Linked DNA regions of Homo sapiens: region 2 is linked to region 1. The links are contacts of gene promoters, found by promoter capture Hi-C in blood cells and fetal thymus (Javierre and others, 2016). All regions are on one chromosome and are shown on one strand. Each heading gives the region's core, a stretch centred on a gene start or on the middle of the fragment in contact. The rest is flanking DNA. Distances are from core to core; before and after follow the strand shown. Region 1 holds the start of HEBP2 (heme binding protein 2). Region 2 holds the start of IFNGR1 (interferon gamma receptor 1).

Region 1 (5,411 bases), core at 2,312-4,811:
GTGCACTGTTTTAGTCTATTTTCTATTGCTGATAACAGAAAATCTGAATCTGGGTAATTTATAAATAAAAAGAATTTATTTCCTATGGTTATGGAGGTTGGGAAGTTCAAGGTCAAGGGGCCACATCTGGTGAGGGCCTTCCTGCTGGTGGGGACTCTCTTCAGAGTTCCGTGACAGCACAGAGCATTACATGGTGACGGGGCTCAGTGTGCTAGCACAGGTCTCTCTTCTTCCTCTTATAAAACCACAAGTCCCATTCTCGTGCTAACCCAATAATCCATTAACCCATTAACCCATGAATGGATTAATTTCAGAGCCCTCATCACTCAATCACCTCTTAAGGCCCCATCTTTCAATACTGCCCTATTGGGGATTCAGTTTCAACATGAGTTTCTGAAGAGATGAACATTCAAACCATAGCATACACCCACTAGGATGATTATAATCCAAAAGCCAGATAAAAACACGTGTTGATGGGGATGTGGAGAAATAGAATGCTCACACCTTGTTAGTGAGAATGTGAAGTGGCGAAAAAACAGTCTGGCAGTTTCTCAGAAAGTTAAACATAGAGTTACCATTTGACCCAGAACTTCTACTCCTAGATGTTTACCCAAGAGACATGAAAACATACATGCACACAGAAACATGTACATAAACATGTAGAGCAGCTTTATTTATAATAGCCAAAAGTTGAAAATGGCCCAAATGTCCCTCATCTGATAAGTTGATAAAATGTTTATCCAATGGACTATTAATCAGCTATAAAAAGAAATGGAGTACCTGCCACAACACAGATGAACCTCGAAAACACTTTGCCAAGTTAAAGAAACCAGTCACAAAGGACCACGTACTATTATGAGTCCATTCATATGAAATGTTCCAAATAGACAAAACTATAGAGACAGAGAACAAATTAGTAGTTGTCTAGGCATAGGGAATGGGGAATTGGGAGGTGGTGGCTAAAGGTTATAGAGTTTCTTTAAGGGTGGGAAGTGATGAAAATGTTCTCACCTTGTGATGATGGTTGCCCAGTCCTTGTGATGATGGTTGCCCAGATCTAAAGATCCTAAAAACCATTGACTAGTACACTTTAAATGGGTGAACTATATGGTATATGAATTATATCTTAATAAATCTCTTGGAAAAAATAAAGAATACATCTAACAAAAAAAAATTTAAGGGATATTTATTCCTTTTCCAATTGTTATAATAAAACCAGGTGGAAGAGAATGGTTGTAGCAGTTAGAAAAAAAAAGAATACAAATCTGGGGTTTGGCCATTAAAAGTTATTCATAAAAATGAGAGAAGAAAAGGCAAGAAGAAGTTATTTCACATTACAGACCTCTCCCTGGCCCCAAAGCCTAACATGTGCTTACCGAGTCAAAAAAGAGACACAGTTGATTCACAAGCTGAAGGTTGGAACTTGAATAGAACCCTAGGCAGGGCAGTGCCCCCCTGCCCGGCCCAGGTGCCACTAGGCACAGCACCAGAGTAAAAACTCAACAGCGGGGAGGCCGGACCCTCGAGGTTTGGGAGTTTAAGCACCCAACTTCTGGCTCAGGGATTTGGGGAGTAGGGTAAACAAAACCTACTTGGAAAAGAATTGGGGAAGAAAACCAAAAATTGCCTTCTGCAGGGCTGGGGACAGGGAAGGAGGCAGGGCCAGGGAAAGGCACATTTCATATCACTAATCTAACTTGGGAGGCTGTGGGGGACCGTCTTCAACTGGCCTTACGAGGAAAGCCACATGGCCGATTGGAGAATCCACAGGAGGGAGAGAAGGAAAGGGAATGTAGCTGGTAGGATGCAATAGCCCCTTCCTTTCTGGGCACAGGAGGGCAGCCAGGGCACCAGGTCCAGGCAGTAACCTCACAAGAACAGCAGTTTTTGCAGCTTAGAGATCACCCACCTGGCCCACCCAGCTACTCATTCTGCTCAGCGTGGGCTGGTGTAGGGCCACTCTCCGCCCCGAGGGAGTGGACAGCTCTGTAGCTTGGGGCCCTGCCTCTTCTTCTGAGGCAGTACTGCCTCTGCGCCCTTGGCCTGGGGCTCCTGGCTCTCAGGGGTGGCAACAGCCTTCCCTTCCTGGGCAGCGCCCTTGTCGCTGCAGGCATTGATCTTCCCCCACTCCTGTTCTTCCTCCATAGGTGAGGAGGCAGAAGAGTCACCCCACCCTCCTTCCCATTTCTCTTGAAGGACAAGCTGCTCTTAGAAACCCTTCTTGAAAGATAATTATTTATTTATTTATTTATTTATTTATTTATTTATTTATTTATTTATTTTAGACAGGGTATCACTCTGTTACCCAAGCTAGAGTGCAGTGGCGCAATCTCGGCTCACTGCAGCTTCGACCTCCCCAGGCTCAAGCCGATCCTCCCACCTCAGCCTCCCGAGTAGCTGAGATCACAACCCCAGCACACTCAGCTTTTTTTTTTTTTTTTTTTTTTTTGGAAGGCAGCTATGCTCTCCACTCTACTATCAACGCTATTTTATTGTATTTTTGTAGAGACGGGTTTTCGCCATGTTGCCCAGTCTGGTCTCGAACTCCTGGGCTCAAGCGATCACCCCTGTCTTGGCCTCCCAAAATGAAGGGATTACAGGCGTGAGCCACCGTGCCTGGCCTTGAAAGGCAATTTCGTCTTCTTGGAAGTCTCCTTGCGAGGGAGGGAGCCTCCCCTTTGGCCTCAGCACCCTGGCTAGGGGGTGCTGGCTCCATGGCATTGCCAATGGTCCCGGCTGCCTCTTCTGTTCACAGGGGCCTACTCCCCTTCACCCTTGGGGGATGTCACCATTGCTTTTCACGTGGCCACCCTCCTGTCCGTTGGCTTTCGCGTGGGGAGTGCCTGCTGCCTCTGCGGCGGTCACGTCGCCCCGGAGAGCCTCGGAGCTCTGGCTGCCCACGATGGGAGTCCTCTGGGGGGCGCCGGAGCCGTGCCGGGTCCCCGCCGCAGGGGACAGTAACGCGGAGTCGGCCTGGCCGGCGGAAAGGGGGTGCTGGGGAACAGAGCCGCACCCCACTCGGCTCGGGAAAGCCCTGGTAACCAAAATTCTTGAAAAGCACTAGTGTCTGGCCTCGGCACTAACTCTCCCCGAGTCTCGTTAAGCCTGCGGGGATGACTCAGAGGGTCTGGGGTCCTGTCGGGGAAAAGTTCAGAAACCAGAACAGTTCCAGATTCTCTCCATGTGTCTGTGGTCCCACCACCTCCTCCGCAAGGGACCCTGAAAGCTGTCTGGGACCTAGGACAACTTCTTGGGATGAGTACGGCCATTCGCCCTGGCTGAGCCCCAGGAGTGCGGGCAGGGGCCGCGGGGGTCGGGTCGCCAGCCGCCACCTCCTGCCTTTCTCTGCCTGCGGTGCGCTGGGACACCCTCGAGGCGGCTCAGCGCCCGCGGTTCCCAGCGCGGGCGGGGCCGCGGCAGAGGTTCCCAAACCGGTTGCACAGAAACAGCGCCACCCCCTACTGCCCGCGGGGCCACCTGTGTGTGCCTTTCCTTCAAAAACAAAGGCGGGGCGGGGGCGGAAGTGCCTCAAAAGAAGGCGGGCCGAAGCGAGGTGCGGCTCCCTGTCGCCGCGGAGGGGCGGGGGCAGGACGCGCAACTCCGGCCGGAGCTGTCCGGGGTCGTGAGCCGGCCCCGCCTTGGTGGCGGCGCCCCCTCGCGGTCCAGAGGCAGACGCATCGGGTGGGCTCGGGTCTCCAGCCCGGCCGGGAGGAGGGACCGGGTCTGCGGAGCGGGGACTCGGGGCCTCGGCGGGGCGCGCACACGCAGGCGGGGCGGCCCGGGGTGCGGGGCCTCTGCGCGGCTGACCAGGCTCCCAGAGCGTCAGCGCCGCCCATGGCCGAGCCGCTCCAGCCAGACCCCGGGGCGGCCGAGGACGCGGCGGCCCAAGCTGTGGAGACGCCGGGCTGGAAGGCCCCGGAGGACGCCGGCCCCCAGGTAGGCGCCGACTCGGGAGCGGAGGGGCTGGGCCCGCCTTCCGGCTGATTTGCAGTGAGGCCAGCGGGTCCCATAGAGTTAAGTAAAAAGTACAGTTTTTTAAATGGTCCCAGTCCCTACCCACTATGCTACGCAAACGAGAAACCCCGGTCATTTAGCTCTACCCTCCCCGCTACCCCCAGTGCAGGTCCCATCTCAATTTCTTGTCTTTGCGGGGTGGTGGGGCGGGGAGGAACTGGTTACGTCCCAGAACGCGCGGTGGAACCCTCCGAACCGAGGGGGTGTAATAGATGCTTGTCTGAAAGTGTGAATCGAGTCCCCAGCGTGTGGGGTTGGGGCCGCTGCGGTCCCTAATCGCAAGGAGGGGAACCTCGTGGAGGGGAACCTCCCAGACCTAAGGAGCGGGGACCTCAGGCCGGACCCCGGGGCGGTGCAGCCCCTAGACAGGACGGCTCCAGGTCGACCCGAGATCATGGCACCGGTATTTTTGCATCTCACTCCTACCCTCTTAGAATTGCTTCTCGAAGTTTTCTCTGTTCCACTTTAGCCCGGAAGTTATGAGATCCGACACTATGGACCAGCCAAGTGGGTCAGCACGTCCGTGGAGTCTATGGACTGGGATTCAGCCATCCAGACGGGCTTTACGAAACTGAACAGCTACATTCAAGGCAAAAACGAGAAAGGTAAAAGCAGTTTTCCTTGTAATTATGCATATTGTGAAAGAGTCCCCGGGCTTATTATTGAGTTTTAGCTTATTAAAGAAATATCCTTTATAATGGAAAAATAAGCAAGTCATCAAAGACTTGTCTTGTTTTCAGACAAGACTCCTCAGGACCAGGGTTACACTGGGTATTACTTTTCAACCTCTGTTCTCTGATTTTGCTGGATGAACTGGGGTTTGGTGTAACTCGTGATAAGTCCTTTTCTATGGCTAACACCTCAAGATAATTTGGTGACTGGTAGGATCAGAGACGTCAGGAGGCAAGAAGGTACCAAGATTAGAAGCATCAAGTCATAGCTTTTGGTCTGGCTTTGCTGCTATTTATATTTTAGCAGGTCTCTTAGCCTGTGGGACCTCATTTTCTGAATGGTAAGAAAAAATAATTTACTGACCATGTAATCTCTAATTTCCCCTTTTATCTCTAAAAATTAAGAATTTATTAACCCAGAATATCAGTATTACAGAAAGTGGTTTAATGTGGGCAGTGAGCAATTGAGTAATTTTGGCCTTACTGTTTTAAGATGAAAATTATCTTAAAGGTAAATATGTCAACAATGTGAAGTAAATCAAGGAACCCAGATCAAAAAAGAATAGGTTAAATGTTTAAAGCTGTCAAAAATACACTAAATTTGCTTTCATTTTTATGTCACAGAGATGAAAATAAAGATGACAGCTCCAGTGACAAGCTACGTGGAGCCTGGTTCAGGTCCTTTTAGTGAGTCTACCATTACCATTTCCCTGTATATTCCCTCTG
Region 2 (4,816 bases), core at 788-3,287, 1.2 Mb before region 1:
ACTTCAGCAAGGCATAGTGGGTGTATTATTTTGTTGGCTCAACACCTGTACTTCAGGCACGCCATTCCGCTTCTTCTGGTAACCCAACCCAACCCTCTACGAGAATGTCCTTCCCATGCAAGCTGGCACCTGAACCTAGCTGGGCAAATCAGAGCCTTTCCCTGGCATTTTGTTAGAATGGAGGAGGCTGCAAGATGTCAAAACTCAGAAGCTGTCAGCATCCATGATTCCTGCCAAGTGTGGAAAGCTGTCAATACCCAGACAGAAATAAGAAATGGAGAGTCCTAGCAGTTTGGGTTCCTGGTTCTAGCCTCTTGAGACCCAGCTGGCATCTATAATTTTCTGTTTAACTCTGGTTTTTCTGAGACAATAAATTCCTCTTTTTGCTTAAGTTAATAAAGCTAGGTTTCTTGCTGGTACACATAATATGGCAATTCATTATTTGGTTCCTACTTCTCCACCTAACCTATCTCCTCCCCTTGTAAGCTCTCACACACACTTTACAATAGAACGCTTAATATTCCACGAATTCAACATGCTATCACACCTCTGCACCTCAGTCTCTGCACCTCTGGTTCCAACACTGGGGTCACCTTTGTGAAGTCTTCACTGACTTCCCTAAAAGAGACAAGCACCCCGCCTTGCTTTCCACTAGTCTGTGCCTAAGTGCAAGCTCTTACCGCAAAGTACTGCAACTGCCCATGTGGATGACTGACTAGAGCCTAGAAGAGCAGTTAAGAACTTGGACTCTGGAGCCAAATTGAGCAGCTCCCCACTGAGTGGCTATGACCTCTCTGCCAGTTGGGCAGGCCTCTCCGTAACTCAATTTCTCGTCCATAAAGAGAGAGACAAATAACGCCTACTCCAGAAGATTGTTGTGAACACAGAACCAAAACGTGGACCTTTCAAAGTCCCTATGAATCATAAATCATAATAAAAAAAAGAAAACTGAATTGAAAAGGTTTACTGTTTTCTCTGGAGCTCGTAATCACAATTACTCTGCACTTCAGAAAAGCCACCCTCAACATTTGTTTTCTAGGAAATGTCAATAAGCAGGTGGAAATAAAATGCTCCGAAGAACAAACCCGTACGAAGAGACCTACTGCCAAATCTGCTAGTGAGTGCCGGCAATCCACCACTTCCAGACTGAGACCTAAGACGGACTGCCACTTACTTCTCAGCTGCCACTTACTTCTCAGCTGGCGACATAATGCATACTTTCCTACCCTAAGCACTTTGAGTCCCCCCCCCCACCCCCGCTAAGAAAGAAGTATTTAAGCCACGAACTGAGACCACGATGCCACATGCTGATCAGGACACTCACAGTCATGCGTCACTTAACGATGGAGATCCGTTCTGAGAAATGGAGAAATGTCCCCTTAGGCAATTTCTTCGGGCAGTAGAAACCCAGACAAACCCAGATGACACAGCCTACTGCTCTTAGGTCATGAACCTGTACAGCCTGTCACTGCACTGAACACTGCAGGCAACCGTAGCATACTAGTGAGTATCTGCGTATCTAACCATAAAAAAAGGTACAGTAAGAAGACGATATTATAATCTTTGAGACCACGCTGTCCCACATTGACCAGCAACGTCCTTCTGCAGCGCATAATCGTATTTAAAAGTGGATTACAAGAGTCGGAAAAACAAGCGGCGTGATTTGTTGTGGCGGCAACCAGGGAAGAGGCAGGAGAAAGGCAACCGACGAGTTCAAACCACGGAGCCCCAGTCTCGCGACCCCACCTCGCGTCCCCGTCGCCCGCTCAGGGCCCGACGCAGGGGTCCCGGGCTAGGGCGACCTCGGAGAAGCGGGGCGGGGCTTCCCGGCTGGGGCGGATCCCTCCCTCCCTCTCGTCCCGACCCGGCCGCAGCCCTGCCGCGAACGACGGTACCTGAGGACGGCCCCAGATCCGCGGTGCCCATCTCAGCCCTGCTCACACCCTGCATGACAAGGGGTAGGAGAAAGAGGAGAGCCATGCTGCTACCGACGGTCGCTGGCTCCAACCCCGAGCGCCTGCGGGACCAGCCCAGCACTGCCCTCCAGCCCCGGCCTTACGTCACTTCCGTCACCGGGGTCTGTGCCGGCGTCGGCAGGAGGCGGGACCAGGGCGTGGGCGGGGTCAAGTCCGGGAAGCCGCAGGAGGCGGACTCAGGCGCAGCACCCAGCAGTGAGCACGGCGTCGTGCGGTCGGGACCTGGACTTCTGGGTGTGGGAGGAATTTGAGTGCAAAGGTTAAGGTCTTTCAACCTGGCACCCCATTCTGCAATTCTTCTTCCAGTTTTTTTCGGTTTCCTGGGGTTGTGCAAGTTTGCATTAGGCCACAGCCGAGCCACAATCCTTATTTTACTAACTCTTGGACTTCACCTGGTTGTCTTGGAGCCTGACATTTTTAGAAGAGAATGAGACTTCAAAAGCCATTTCCAGTCCCTGCTTTTTCATTTGAGGAACCTGAGACTTAGCTAGTGAAATGGTTTGTGCAGATTCCCACAGCCCAAATCAAATCGGCTTGACCAAGAACTACTTTGTTCTTGGAGAAAAAAACTATTTGCATTACCTTCTCAGCAATTCAGTGTCAAATCAGTTTATCAGGCAGCCTCTCATGAAGAGGTCTGCTCTCTTACCTCTCTGGGTTTGTCTGTTATTTTGCATCTCTCCTATTCCACTGCAGCCACATTGCTAAGTCCTTCAGCGCTTGTGCTCAAACATGCGAATGTCTAATGATCTCACCTGTTTCAATTCTCTGAGTATCATGAACTTTTGTTAAAAATTTTAAATTGCAACACACCTTCTCCTCCTCCTTACCCCGCCCTACTGTTTTTTCATGGCACTTTTCACCTTGCTGTACACTATAATATACACCTTGATATTTGTTTTCTTCTCCTTCTAAAATGTAAGCTCCGTAGAGCTGACATCTTTACTTGGCACTCAATTAGTATTTGTTGAGTGAAAGACTGCATGATTACTAGTGTTAAGGAAAATTTTTAAAGAGGGAAAATCCTTATAAAGACACTATATAAACTAGAGGTATTATCAGCCAGATCATTTTACTTGTATTAATAAATCTCTTAGCTCAGTACTTCTCAAACTTCAACATACATGTGAACCATCTGGGGATCTTGATAAAATGCAGATTTGGATTCAGTAGTTCTAATTCAGGTTGGGTCTTGAGATTTTGTATTTCGGACAAAATGCACAGGGGATGCTGGTGCCCCTTTCAACAGGACCACACTTTGAATCAGAAGAATTTAGCTCAATCTAGACTAAGTTTAGGGAGAATATTTCCTTTGATGTGTTTCTGATGTCCACTATATGAAAGACACCTTCTAGTCGTTGTAAGGATGCAAGGATAAATAACTGATCTTTACCGTTTAGGCGTCTATGGAGTAGGACAAAATATGATATCCAGTTTGTAAACATTTTTGTGGTACTTGTCACAGGCTGGGTTACCCTGGCAGTAAACTCTGAGGTCGAGATTAAGGTATAAGGCATTGATTGATTAGGGAGTGCTCTTGGAATAAACGTCTGTGAAGGGGAGGTGGAGGAAGCAGAGCGGAGGAAGAAGTTGATCTGTGATGCCATCCCAGTAAAGGCTCCCAAGGGGCGCTCTGGAGTTGGGATGGCCTTGTAAAGGTGTCTTGAGTTGGTATGAGGGGCTGGGTCTTAAAGCCCAGCACTGATTAGTCATTGAATACCAACTGTCATGATTTTGGGGCTGTCCATTTCTTTCATGGAGGCATTCCCCAGAGGAACGCTGACGGTTGAGGGTGTCTACTGGCAGCCCTCCTAGCATCAGGAAGGGGACAGAACCCAGTCTTCTGTTCCTGAGAGGGATCTGGGCAAGTTTCACAATCACAGCACCCACCACCCTACGTATCCTTCTGAAGACTTTGCTAGTTAGTCATTTGGAGACTAAATATATTTATTAATTGGGTGAATATTATCAAGTGATACTGTCTGTGACTGACATGACCAGGCACAGAGATAAAGACCTGAGCAAGACAGACATGGCCCCTGCCCTCACGGAGCTTACTGTCTACTGAGGGAGATAGCTGTTAAACAAGGAATTACACAAGTACTGAAATCGTGATCATCATTCCCAAGGAGAGCAATGGGAAGAGATTAAAGGAGTATAAACAGGAATTTAACTTAGTCTACATTTTAAAGAAAGTCTTTCTTTTCTTTTTTCTTTCTTTTGAGACAGGGTCTCACTCTGTCGTCTAGGCTGCAGTGCAGAGGCATGATCATAGCTTACTGCAGCCTCAAACTCCTGGGCCCAAATGATCCTCTTGCCCCAGCCTCCCAAATAGCTGGGACTACAGGTGTACACCACCATGCCTGGCTAATTTTTTTTTTTTTTTTTGAGACAGGGTCTGACTGTATCACCTAGCTGAGGTACAGTGGCACAATCTCAGCTGACTGCAACCTCCACCTCCCGGGCGCAAGCCATCCTTCCACCTCAGCCTCCCAAGTAGCTGGGACCACAGGCATTTTTTTGTGTCTTTTGTGGAGATGGGGTTTCACCATGTTGCCCAGGCTGATCTCAAACTCCTGAGCTCAAGCAATCCGCCCACCTTGGCCTCCCAAAGTGCTGGGATTACAGGAGTGAGCCACCTCGCCTGGCCTTATGCCCGGCTAGTTTTTAAATTTTTTATAGAGCTGGGGTCTTGCTGTGTTGCTCAGGCTGGTCTCAAACTCCTGGGCTCAAATGATTCTCCTGCCTCAGGCTCCCAAAATGCTGGGATTACAGGTGTGAGCCACTGTGTCTGGATTTAGGGAAATTCTTTTTTAAGGAAGTTACCATTATGTTGTGAC

The links. Contacts are between HindIII fragments. The CHiCAGO score rates a contact against its expected background, and 5 or more counts as called.
Region 2: a contact is called between the fragment with the promoter of IFNGR1 here and the fragment with the promoter of HEBP2 in region 1, in 1 of 17 cell types (naive CD8 T cells). The highest score is 5.4, in naive CD8 T cells.

What each region holds. Positions count from the first base shown.
Region 1 is chr6:138,400,662-138,406,072 of GRCh38, forward strand. It overlaps HEBP2 (heme binding protein 2), which reads left to right and starts at 3,562. Exons shown (of 4, transcript NM_014320.3): 1 at 3,562-3,936; 2 at 4,484-4,619; 3 at 5,310-5,411. The coding sequence starts at 3,835. It also overlaps the pseudogene MARCKSL1P2. RefSeq lists enhancers at 2,256-2,776, 3,298-3,818 and silencers at 2,978-3,047, 3,178-4,027. The HindIII fragment of the contact is 19,528 bases long and covers 1-5,411 here.
Region 2 is chr6:137,217,348-137,222,163 of GRCh38, forward strand. It overlaps IFNGR1 (interferon gamma receptor 1), which reads right to left and starts at 2,038. Exons shown (of 7, transcript NM_000416.3): 1 at 1,896-2,038. The coding sequence starts at 1,980. RefSeq lists enhancers at 178-237, 1,678-2,408, 2,259-2,508 and silencers at 1,219-1,268, 1,729-1,948, 1,989-2,218. The HindIII fragment of the contact is 10,215 bases long and covers 1-4,816 here.